Regions from separate parts of the Homo sapiens genome. Here all the other regions are linked to region 1. The links are contacts of gene promoters, found by promoter capture Hi-C in blood cells and fetal thymus (Javierre and others, 2016). All regions are on one chromosome and are shown on one strand. The core of a region is centred on a gene start or on the middle of the fragment in contact, and the rest is flanking DNA. Distances in the headings are between cores, read along the strand shown. Region 1 holds the start of CREB3L3 (cAMP responsive element binding protein 3 like 3). Region 2 overlaps ZFR2 (zinc finger RNA binding protein 2). Region 3 holds the start of HDGFL2 (HDGF like 2).

The links. Contacts are between HindIII fragments. The CHiCAGO score rates a contact against its expected background, and 5 or more counts as called.
Region 2: a contact is called between a fragment that was not itself captured here and the fragment with the promoter of CREB3L3 in region 1, in 3 of 17 cell types (total CD8 T cells, endothelial precursors and naive CD8 T cells). The highest score is 6.4, in total CD8 T cells.
Region 3: a contact is called between the fragment with the promoter of HDGFL2 here and the fragment with the promoter of CREB3L3 in region 1, in 4 of 17 cell types (erythroblasts, M0 macrophages, non-activated CD4 T cells and 1 more). The highest score is 6.4, in erythroblasts.

Annotation. Positions count from the first base shown.
Region 1 is chr19:4,152,378-4,156,212 of GRCh38, forward strand. CREB3L3 (cAMP responsive element binding protein 3 like 3) reads left to right here and starts at 1,254. Exons shown (of 10, transcript NM_032607.3): 1 at 1,254-1,397; 2 at 2,522-2,650. The coding sequence starts at 1,371. The HindIII fragment of the contact is 35,033 bases long and covers 1-3,835 here.
Region 2 is chr19:3,848,099-3,851,702 of GRCh38, forward strand. The region is part of intron 1 of ZFR2 (zinc finger RNA binding protein 2); the gene reads right to left. Among named protein-coding and RNA genes, the nearest start is that of ZFR2, 19 kb to the right of the region's middle. RefSeq lists an enhancer at 1,427-1,928. The HindIII fragment of the contact is 2,011 bases long and covers 322-2,332 here.
Region 3 is chr19:4,471,027-4,474,676 of GRCh38, forward strand. It overlaps HDGFL2 (HDGF like 2), which reads left to right and starts at 1,271. Exons shown (of 16, transcript NM_001001520.3): 1 at 1,271-1,396. The coding sequence starts at 1,325. RefSeq lists enhancers at 1-86, 347-696, 3,186-3,650, 3,488-3,627 and silencers at 1,197-1,376, 1,407-1,466. The HindIII fragment of the contact is 12,260 bases long and covers 1-3,650 here.

The sequences.
Region 1 (3,835 bases), core at 4-2,503:
AAAAAAAAACAAAATTAGCCAGGTGTGGTGGTGCACGCCTGCAGTCCTAGCTACTTGGGAGGCTGAGACGGGAGGATCACTTGAACCCAGGAGTTGGAGGCTGCAGTGAGCTATGATCCTGCCACTGCACTCCAGCCTGGGCAATAGAGTGAGACCCTGTCCTCCACCAACACCAAAAAAAAAAACAAAAAAACAAAACAGGGCTCCTCTCTCTTGGTAGGGGGTGGAGGGGAGGTCAGAGACACCTCTCAGCCACCCGGGCTGATTCACAAATATCGAACATTCACTAAAATGTCAATACAGTGACCTAGAGCCAGAGGGGAAGAGGGAGGGTACAAGAGGAGAGTTCCAGGCAGAGGGGCGAGCAGGTGAGTAGGTGCAAAGGCCCTAAGCAGGAACCAGTTTGGCTCCATAAATATTTGTTGACTCAATGAACGATAGAAGATTCTAGAGAGAATTGATTGCACAGAATCACCCATGGGGACTCAGAGGCGGAGTCCAAGCTGGTTTCGGAGGGGGCTGGGGGCCGGAGGTTGGCAGGTGGGGTGAAGGATGGGAGCCGCTAGCTGCTGGCAGGAAAACTGGCTTCAGTGAAGATCTGGTCTGGTCCTCTTGGTTTGTTTCTGTCCAGGGAGTGGACAGGACCCATGTAAGGGCCCTGGGCTATCCCAGAACCCATCTGGGAATTCTGAAGAGAAAAAGTCCTGTAACTGGCCGGGTGCGGTGGCTCACGCCTGTAATCCCCGCACTTTGGGAGACTGAGGGGCCGATCACGAGGTCAGGAGTTCGAGACCAGCCTGGAAAACATGATGAAACCTCGTCTCTACTAAAAATACAAAAGTTAGCCGGGCATGGTGATGGGGACCTGTAGTCCCAGCTACTCGGGAGGCTGAGGCAGGAGAATCACTTGAACCCAAGAGGCAGAGGTTGCAGTGAGCCGAAATGAGATGGCACCACTGCACTCCAGCTTGGGCCACAGAGCGAGACTCCGTCTCAAAAAAGAAAGAAAAAAAGAAAAAGTCCTCATAAGTAGGGCAGAGGTCACGGCAGAGTGGAGGTACCCCAGACTTCGACCTTTGCTCACTGAGGGCTGGAAAACCACAAAACACCCAGATAACGGTCTTCCCTCCCCTGCTCCTGCCTGCCCCAGTGTCACTGGCCCTCAACCCTGTCTCTCCACCCTGTCCACCAATCAGCACCTGGAGGTGGGCTGGGAGCTGCCTGTGACCGCTTCAGCATCTTTTGGGAGTGGTGACAGAGCCACAGAGGGCTGTGAGCTTGCCCGGCCCCAGGTAACGCTGGCGGTGGGTGGGCCTCCAGCTTGGAGCAGAGACCCCCCGAGGCATCTGCAGACAGAACTGGATGGACCCATGAATACGGATTTAGCTGCTGGAAAGGTGAGCCCTACTAGGTCCCCAGGGAGAGCGGGAGTCTAGGCTGGGAAAGCCTACCCAAGCTGCCAGAGCTGGAAGGACCCCATCTCCACCCCTATTGTACAGATGGGAAGACTGAGGCCCAGAGAAAGGATGCAATGAGCAAAACTGTGTGCCTTTGCCCCGGGGCTGCCCTTGTCTTTCTTCCAGGTCCCCCTGCCTCCTAGGAGCGGGCACTTGGGGAGGCTGTGAAGGCCTGAGAGGCAAGCGGCATCTCTAGCTAGGGCCTCTCTCCAGCACTTTTTATTTTATTTTATTTTATTTTTATTTTTATTTTTTGAGATGGAGTCTCCCTCTGTCACCCAGGCTAGAGTGCAATGGCACGATCTCAGCTCACTGCAACTTCCACCTCCTGGGTTCAAGAGATCTTCCTGCCTCAGCCTCCCAAGTAGTTGGGATTACAGGTGTGCACCACCACGCCCGGCTAATTTTTGTACTTTTCCTAGAGACAGGGTTTCACCATGTTGGCTAGGCTGGTCTCAAACTCCTGACTTCAGGTGAGCTGCCCGCCTCGGCTTCCCAGAGTGCTGGGATTACAGATGTGAGCCACCGTGCCTGCCATACTTTTTTGTTTTTTGAAACAAGGTCTTGCTCTGTGACCCAGGGTGGAGTGCAGTGGGGTGGCCATAGCTCACTGCAGCCTCAACCTCCTGGGTTCAAGGGATCCTCCTACCTCAGCCTCCCCAGTAGCTGGGACGACAAGTGTGTGCCACCGCAGCCAGCTAATTTTTTTAAATTATTTGCAGTAGGGATAGGGGTCTCTATGTTGCGCAGGCTGGTCTTGAACTCCTGGGCTCAAGTGATCCTCCTGCCCCGGCCTCCCAAAGTGCTGAGATTACAGGCATGAGCCACCACATCCAGCCTCTCCAGCACTTTAAGAGAAATTGGCTCTCACACTGTGGAATTCTCTCTATCAGCCTCAAAGTCCAGATTTGGAAAGGGAGTCTCAGCGAGGGGCAGCAGCTGGCCCAACCCGGAGGCAGAGCGGCAACTGAACTCTAGCCGGAAAGAGCCAGGGTTATGTGCACATGGGAGGTGGGGAGGACAGGGGCTGTATGTGACCCTCACATCTGTTCCTCGCGCCCCAGATGGCTTCTGCTGCCTGCTCCATGGACCCCATCGACAGCTTTGAGCTCCTGGATCTCCTGTTTGACCGGCAGGACGGCATCCTGAGACACGTGGAGCTGGGCGAGGGCTGGGGTCACGTCAAGGACCAGGTGAGGAGTCCACTGCAGTTGCCCCGGGACCACAGAGCTCCAGGCGGGCCAACTGAGGCCCCACGAAGGTGCTAGACCCGCCAGAGCCCAGCCAGAGCTCTGCTCAGCTCTACGATGCACTAATGGGTCACGGTGCTTGATTTTAGCCAAGCACATCATTTAGCGGGTAGCATCAGCTCCTTCTTACAGGTGGGGAATGGAGGCCCAGAGCAGGGTGGAAACTCATCCAAAGTCACACAGCAATTTGGAGTTAGGTTCAAACTCAAACTTGGGGCATCTCCCTGGCTAGGTTCGGTTCTCTTCTCCTTCCTCTCCTTCCTTTCTCTCTTTCTTCTTCTTTTTTTTTTTTTTGAAGGAGTCTCGCTCTGTTGCCCAGGCTGGAGTGCAGTGGTGCCATCTCGGCTCACTGCAACCTCTGCCTCCCGGGTTCAAGCGATTCTCTTGCCTCAGCCTCCCAAGTAGCTGGGATTACAGGCGCCCGCCACTGCACCTGGCTAATTTTTGTATTTTTAGTAGAGATGGGTTTCACTATCCTGGCCAGGCTGGTCTTGAACTCCTGACCTTGTGATCCACCCACCTCAGCCTCCCAAAGTGCTGAGATTACAGGCGTGTGCCACCGCGCCCGGCCCACTTTCTTTTTTTTCTTTCTTTTCTCTCTCTTTTTCTCTTTCCTTCCTTCCTTCCTTCCTTTTTTCCTTCCTTTCTCCCTCTTTCTTTTACTCTCTTTTTTTTTTTTTGAGATAGAGTTTCACTCTTGTCACCCAGGCTGGAGCGCAATGGCGCGATCTTGGCTCACTGCAACCTCCGCATCCCAGGTTCAAGTGATTCTCCTACCTCAACTTCCCGAGTAGCTGGGATTACAGGCAGCCGCCACCACGCTCGGCTAATTTCTTGTGTTTTTAGTAGAGATGGGGTTTCACCATGTTGGCCAGGCTGGTCTTGAACTTCTGACCTCGGGTGATCCACCTGCCTTGGCCTCCCAAAGTGCTGGGATTATAGGCGTGAGCCACCACACCCGGCCCTTTTTTCTCTTTCTTTCTCTCTCTCTCTCGTTTCTCTCTCTCTCTCTCTCTCTCTCTCTCTCTCTCTCTCCCCCCCTCTCTCTCTGTCTCTCTCTCTCTCCCCCTCCCTCCCTTCCTCCCTTCCTCCCTTCCTTCCTCTCTCTCTCTCTTTCTTAGACAGAGT
Region 2 (3,604 bases), core at 77-2,576, 300 kb before region 1:
CTGCTGCCTCTTTTGTATAAAAAGCTTTCATGGCTGGGCACAGTGGCTCACGCCTGTAATCCCAGTACTTTGGGAGGCCGAGGCAGGTGGATCACCTGATGTCAGGAGTTCGAGACCAGCCTGGCCAACATGGTGAAACCCCGTCTCTGCTAAAAATGCAAAAATTAGCCAGGCATGGTGGCGGGCGCCCGTAATCCCAGCTACTTGGGAGGCTGAGGCAGGAGGATCGCTTGAATGGGGGAGGTGGAGGTTGCAGTGACCCAAGACTGTGCCATTGCACTCCAGGCTGGGCAATAAGAGCGAAACTCCATCTCGGAAAAAAGCTTTCATGGCCAGGTGTGGTGTCTCACACCTGTAATCCCAGCACTCTGGGAGGCCAAGATGGGAGGATCTCTTGAGCCCAAGAGTTTAAGACCAGCCTGGGCAACATAGCAAGATCCCATCTCTACAAAACAGAAAAATTAGCCAGGCATGGTGGTGCACCTGCAGTCCCAGCTCCTCAGGAGGCTGAGGCAGGAGGATTTCTTGAACCTAGTAGGTTGAGATCACACCACTGCACTCCAGCCTGGGCAACAGAGCAAGACCCCATCTCTTAAAAACACAAAGTGTTAGGCTGGGCGCGGTGGCTCACGCCTGTAATCCCAGCACTTTGGGAGGCTGAGGTGGGCGGATCACGAGGTCAGGAGATCGAGACCATCCTGGCTAACACGGTGAAACCCCGTCTCCACTAAAAATACAAAAAAAAATTAGCCAGGTGTGGTGGCGGGCACCTGTAGTCCCAGCTACTCAGGAGGCTGAGGCAGGAGAATGGCATGAACCCCGGAGGCGGAGCTTGCAGTGAGCCGAGATCACACCACTGCACTCCAGCCTGGACAACAAAGCGAGACTCCGTCTCAAAACAAAACAAAACAAAACAAAACAAAAACCAAACAAACAAAAACACAAAGCGTTCAGTACTAGATAGTAAATCGTGAGTAGCTTTCTGGGGAGGAAGCTCCATTCTTCTCTGGCTTCCCTGGGTCCTGAGACCTTGCCCCTCCAACCTGGAGGCCCAGGCGTGCTGAGCAGCACCAGCAGAGGGCTGTGGGGGCAAGTGAACCTCAGGTGGAAGGCTGAGCAGAGTCCTTCAGCCCAGGACCCCAAGGAAGGAGCAGGAACCTGTGGGGCTTTCTCTATCTGCTCCTGCTGTGCCTCCGCACACAGCTTTGTCTCCACCTGGTGGACACCCCACCTAAGAGGACAGTGGAGGCGGCTGGTTGGTGAACTGGCTCCATGGCAGAGATCAGACAGCCCATGCAGCAGAGGGCAGAGCTTTCCAACTCAGGCCCTTCTGACATTTGGGACAACATTGTTCTCTGGGGTGGGGCCGTTCTGGGCCCTGCAGCGTGCTGAGCAGCGTCCCCAGCCTCCACCCACTCCATGCCAGGAGCTCCCCCAAATCGTGACAATGACAAATGTTCCCAGACCTTGACCAGTTAAGAACTGATGGTCTAGGACAAGCTCAATGCCAGGGCGTAGCCTTGTGCAGGTGGACAGAGCCAAAGGCTGCTTCCTGCCTGGTTCAGCCCATACTCTGGAAGGATCCCCAGGATGTTGTAGGCTGGCCTCTGACTTGGAGTCAGGCTTGAGTCAGCACCATGAAGACAGTGAATGAAAAAGAACACGCTCTTCTTGTAGACAACCCTGAACAGCAATGCTCAGGCACGCTACAGTTTGGAATCCACTGAGCCAGGGCGCAGGGAAAATGGATGTGCGACCAACATGCAGATGGCTGGACGTCCGCTGGCTGAGGGCAGGTCTCAGCATCCCTGCTGGCCTGCAGGGCAACTCCCACTGGTTTCAGTGTTACACCCTGTGAACGTCACAGCTGTGAGCAGACTGAGGACCTGTGAGGGATACAGGGTCAGGGTGACATCAGGCAAGATACCCTTGACCTCGCCGCAGGTCCCCACCCTGTCCCGCCACTCTGCTGTCTGATGGCAGGAATGGAGTGCCTCTCCTACACAGATAACAGAGACGCGGGGGCAGAGGCAGCGAAACCCAGGCACCCTCTGGGAGAAGGAGGGGCATGCCAACTGCTCTGAAGACCCAGGAGGCTCCCCCAGAGGCTGGAAAAGCCCCGGGGAAGGGTGCCTGGGATTTCAAAGAGGAGGGGCTCGCTGAGAGGAGCGTGGGAGAAATGAGGAGTGCTGGTGGGGCGACTGTCCTGGGTGCTGAGGGACAGAGGTTATCAGGGTGAGGGGTGACGGGAGGCAGCTCAGGGCTCTCCAGTGCCAGGTAGAACCTGGGATTTATCCTCAGCCATGAGGAGCCACCTGGGCATCTCATGACAAGCTTTGGCCTGAATTACGTCCCCCTGCCCCCAATTCTTATGTTGAAGCCCTAACCCCCATGTGACTGTATTTGGAGATGAGGCCTTCAGGGAGGGAATGAAGGTTATATGACGTCATCAGGTGGGGACTGATCTGAGCAGAACTGGGGTCCTTATAAGAAAAGGAAGAGGCCGGGCACAGTGGCTCACACCTCTAATCCCAGCACTTTGGGAGGCTGAGGCAGGAGGATCACTTGAGCCCAGGAGTTAGACATCAGCCTGGGCAAGATACTGGGATCCCATCTCTACAGAAAAACAACAACAACAACAACAACAACAACAAAACAAACACACACAAAAAAACCACACTTTGCGCCTGTGGATCCTTGGGAGGCTGAGGTGGGAGGCTCGATTAAGCTCAGGAGATTGAGGCTGCAGTGAGCTGTGATCTCACCACTGCACTGCAACCTGGATGACAGGGCAGTCTTTTCAAAAAAAAAAAAAAAAAAAAAAAGAGACACCAGCAGTGCACATGGACAGAGAAAAAGCCACAGGAGGACACTGTGAGGAGGTGGCCATCTGAAAGCCAAGGAGAGAGCCCTCACCAGAAACCACCCCCTGCTGGCACCTAGATCTCACACTTCTGGCCTCCAGAACAGGGAAAAAATACATTTTGTTTAAGCCTCAGTCTGTGGTATTGTTAGGGAAGCCCCAGCCGACCAAGACAGGTGGAGACGGTTAGAGAGGGGAGCAGTTAGAGGGAAGGCCCATTAAGGACACGAGACACACAGGGGCCAGAACTAGAGGGGGTGATGGACAGGGGGACAGAACACATGCGCCATCATGTCACCGGCAGGAAAGCACAGTCAAAGCCAGCTCTCAGCAGTGTAGGGCTTTACAAACACCTAAAACAGGGCCTGGGAACAGCCAAGAGTAATATGTGTTTGGTGACTGTGACCACACAGTGACCATGACTCAGGAAGGGAACACTTGGCCTGCCTCATCTCAAGTCATTGCTTGTGACCCCAGAAGCCACCAAAACATGCAAATGCATGCACACACACGTGCATGCACACACTGCTGTTCCATTCCACTAAGCATGCTTACACGAGGAAGTAGAGCATGGGCTTTGTCTCCAATGGGGCAGCCCACATCTTCATGGGTCTCACACCCACTCTCAGGGGAGACCATGGCCTGGCAGAGCCCAGAATTTAGGGGAGGAAGGGAGGGGACAGAAGGGTTTTTAAGATGGAGTCAGCTATGTATGGCCAAATGCGGCCTGCCTGTTTTTGT
Region 3 (3,650 bases), core at 21-2,520, 320 kb after region 1:
AGAGTTATAGCTTTTTTTTTTCTGCTCTGTCACCCAGTCTGGAGTGCAGTGGCGCGATCTCGGCTTACTGCAACCCCCCGCTCCTGGGTTCGAGTGATTCTCCTGCCTCAGCTTCCTGAGTAGCTGGTATAGGTGCGTGCCACCACGCCCAGCTAATTTTTGTATTTTTAGTAGAGACGGGGTTTCACCATGTTGGCCAGGCTTGGTCTCAAACTCCTGACCTCGTGATCCGCCCGCTTCGTCCTCTCAAAGTGCCGGGGTTACAGCCGTGAGCCATCGCGTCCGGCCGAGTTATAGCTTCTAATACTTCCTGTATTTCCTGTTGCCGGGCTCAGTCTAGAGCAGGGTCCTCACAATCATTATGGGCCCCATCTTCCAAGTGCAGAGAGCGAAGCCCAGGACAATCAAGTGACTCGGCCCCACGGTATTCAGTACATTTTTCTTGAATGAATGAATAGGTCTGTGTGGCGTTTTGGGGCCCTGGCATATAGTAGGTACTCAGTTAAGTTTTTAACTAAGTGAAGAAATAACTATTTTGTGCATTTTGTGGCTGTTTATACTAAGAGCTCCCCCGGAGCCTGCCCCTTCCTCTAAGTCCCGCCTCCTCGAGCTGGCAATCGCCCGTCCCTGTTTTATGTTGTATCGCTCTTCTTTCGATAGCCAATGGCCGACGTTCCCGCTGAAGCCCCGCCTCTTGTGATGGCCAATGCCTGCTCCCTACCTTGAGGCGCTTCTCTTGTGGTATCCAATGGCTTGCATATCTACTTTAAGCCTCTCCTCCTGAGCGGGAGAGGCTGTCAATGACCCGCCCATTGCGTTAAGTGATTGGCCTTCTTTTCTGCGGTATCCAATGTTCTGCCCTCCTTATATCCCCTTCTCTTGTGGAGGTCTATGTCCTGCCTCTTTCCCTTAAGCTCCACCCCTTCACTCCCTTAGAGCGTCTGTTCGTCTCCTCCCACCTTTCCCTTTCACCTCCCATAACCTCCCATTAGAGTCTCTGGGTTACGCCCCTTGGGTCTGTCCGTTATCCAATCCCGTTAACTGCTGTGCTCCAACCTCTGTTCTTATTGGTCGCCTCCCTTCTCTGTCCCCTGCACGTGGTCCTGATCGACGGCTTTGCCGGCCCGTGACGGCCGGAGGGCTGAACTTCCGTTGGCGCAACGCCCAATAAGCGCGCGTCGGCAGGCTGCCCAGACAGCCTCCCCCGCCCCCTCGGCGTCCCGCTCCCGCCCCCGGCTTCGCCTCCCGCTGCCGCCGCCGCCGCCGCCGCAGCCGCTACCGCCGCTGCAGCCGCTTTCCGCGGCCTGGGCCTCTCGCCGTCAGCATGCCACACGCCTTCAAGCCCGGGGACTTGGTGTTCGCTAAGATGAAGGGCTACCCTCACTGGCCTGCCAGGGTGAGGCCGCGCGGGAGATGGGGCCGGTGGGGGGGGGGGGGGGGGCAGCGGGGGCCCCGGGCCGGAGGCGGGCACTGGAGGGCCGGGGTTGTCCTGGGCCTGAAGGAGCTGCGCCCCGGGGGTCTGGGGTTCATGGGGTCTGGGGGTGTCCGAGACCCGCAGCGGCCCCGCCCTGGGGGTCTGGGGGTCCTGGGCCGCAGGGAGCTGCGCCCTAGGGGTCTGGGGTTGTCCGGGGCCTGCCGGAGCCGCGCCCCGGGGTCTAGGGATCCTGGGCCTCAGGGAGCCCCGCCCTCGGGGCCTGGGGGTCCTGGGCTGCAGGGAGCCGCGTTCTTGTGGTCTGGTGGTGTTCGGATCCTGCAGGACCCGCCGTCTGGGCCTGCAGGAGCCCCTCCCGGGGTCTGGGGGTCCTCGGCCTCAGGGAGCTGCGTCCTGGGGTTCTGGGGGTGTCCAAGCCCTGCAGGAGCCGCGCCCCGGGGTCTGGGGGCCCTGGGCCTCAGGGGGCCGCGCCTAGGGGTTCTGAGGGTGTCTGCGGCCTGAGAGACTCTCGCCCTTGGTGTATGAGGGTTTTGGGGCTCAGAGAGTCGCTCCCTGGGAGTCTGGGGGTATCCTGGGCCCGAGGGAGTCGCACCTTGGGGGTTTGGGGGTGTTTGGGGCCTGAAAGAGCCGCGCGCCGACGGTCTGGGGGTCCCGGGCCCGAGGAAGCGGTGCCCTGGGGGTCTGGGGCCTGATAAATTCTCACTCTGGGGGAATGGCGGTCCTGGACCTGAGGGAGCTGCGCCGTGGGGATCTGGGGGGTGTCCAGGGCCTGAAGGAGCTGCGGCGCCAATGGTCTGGGGGTCCTGGGCCTGAGGAAGCTGCGCTCTGGGGGTCTGGGGCTTCTGTGCCTGAGGGAGCTGCACCATGGGGATCTGGGGTTGCCCTGGCCCAGAGGGAGCCACGCCTCGTGTGTCTGGGGGTGTCCAGGGTGCCTCAGGGAGCCGTGCGCAGGGTGTCTGGGAGGGTCTGGGACCTGAGGGACCCTCACCTGAGGGCCTGGGGATCCCAGGCCTGAGGGCTCAAGGTTCAAGTTTGAGCAGAACTGCGGAACTTGAGATTTGGGGTCAGATATGGGGGCTGAAGCACTCCCTTGTGGGTCCTGGAGAAGCCCAGTTTTGAGGGGCTGGGGGGCCGAGGGCCATGTGCTAGGGGTCCAGGGTTGGAGGAGGCAGTCAGGGGGGAAGGTTGAGGGTCAAGGCTAAGGGAAGCTGGGACCTCTGAGTGAGGGGCTGGGGGTGGGGGAATGGGGCTCGGGGCTCTGTTCACGGGGTCACTGGGACTCGGGGAACTGGACCTTAGAATGAAGTTGGCATCGGGACTGTTGGGGGACCCTGGGGATTGGTCCCCTGTGGGGAGGAGGATGTAGAAGCTGGTTTTGGAGGGACTTGAGGGTGGGGTGGTCCAACCCCAATGCTTGAAATGGAGACAGGCCCGGGCCCAGGGAGTGGGAGCGCTTCTGAGGGAAGGGGGCTGGCCGAGGGGACCTTGGATGCCCCTTTGGTGGAAGCTGGGGTCCCGACGACCTGGATAGTCCCAGGTGTCCTGGCCTGAAGGATATTCCGCACCTTGGAGTCCCAGGTGTGGAGGGGGTGAGTTCCAGGCCCTGAGAGGTACAGGCCAGCGGGAAGCAGGGACCCCAGGCTATTGTCATCCCCAGGTCTTAGGGCTGAGTCTCCCAGGGCTGAGGTTGGTGGAATTTGCCGGGCAGGACTGAGGAATTTGGCACTGGGGGTGGAAGGCTGGGGCAGCAGGGAGGGGCTGTGGAGGGGGACACCAAACGGTGCTCTGGACCAGAACCAGCCCAGGTCCGAAGCTGGCAATGCCGCTGGGATGGGTGGGCCTCGGAGGACCGTGGGCGGGTCTTGGGAGAAGCGGGGCTGTGAGGCATGCCGGGCTGGTCCTCGGGTGGACTGAATTTAGGATGCTTCTGGCGGGAGAGGGATGCTGGGCCTGGCGGCCCATGGCCGAGCCCAGGGGCCAGGGACTCTGATAAAGTAGCTCTGAGGAGACCCAAGCGAGAAGGAAGCTGGGTGAGTGGGGCAGGGAAGATCGGGAGCCCCCTAGAAGCTGGAGACGTGGATGGGGAAGGAATGCATTGGGAGGGGAGAAGCCACTCCAGCCTGCTGTGCTCGCGCTGACTTTCTTGGGGGAGACCAGAGCAATGCAACTTTATAGGCACTTCCCTCCCTTTCCCAGCTCTCTTCTTCCCAGAGCACTC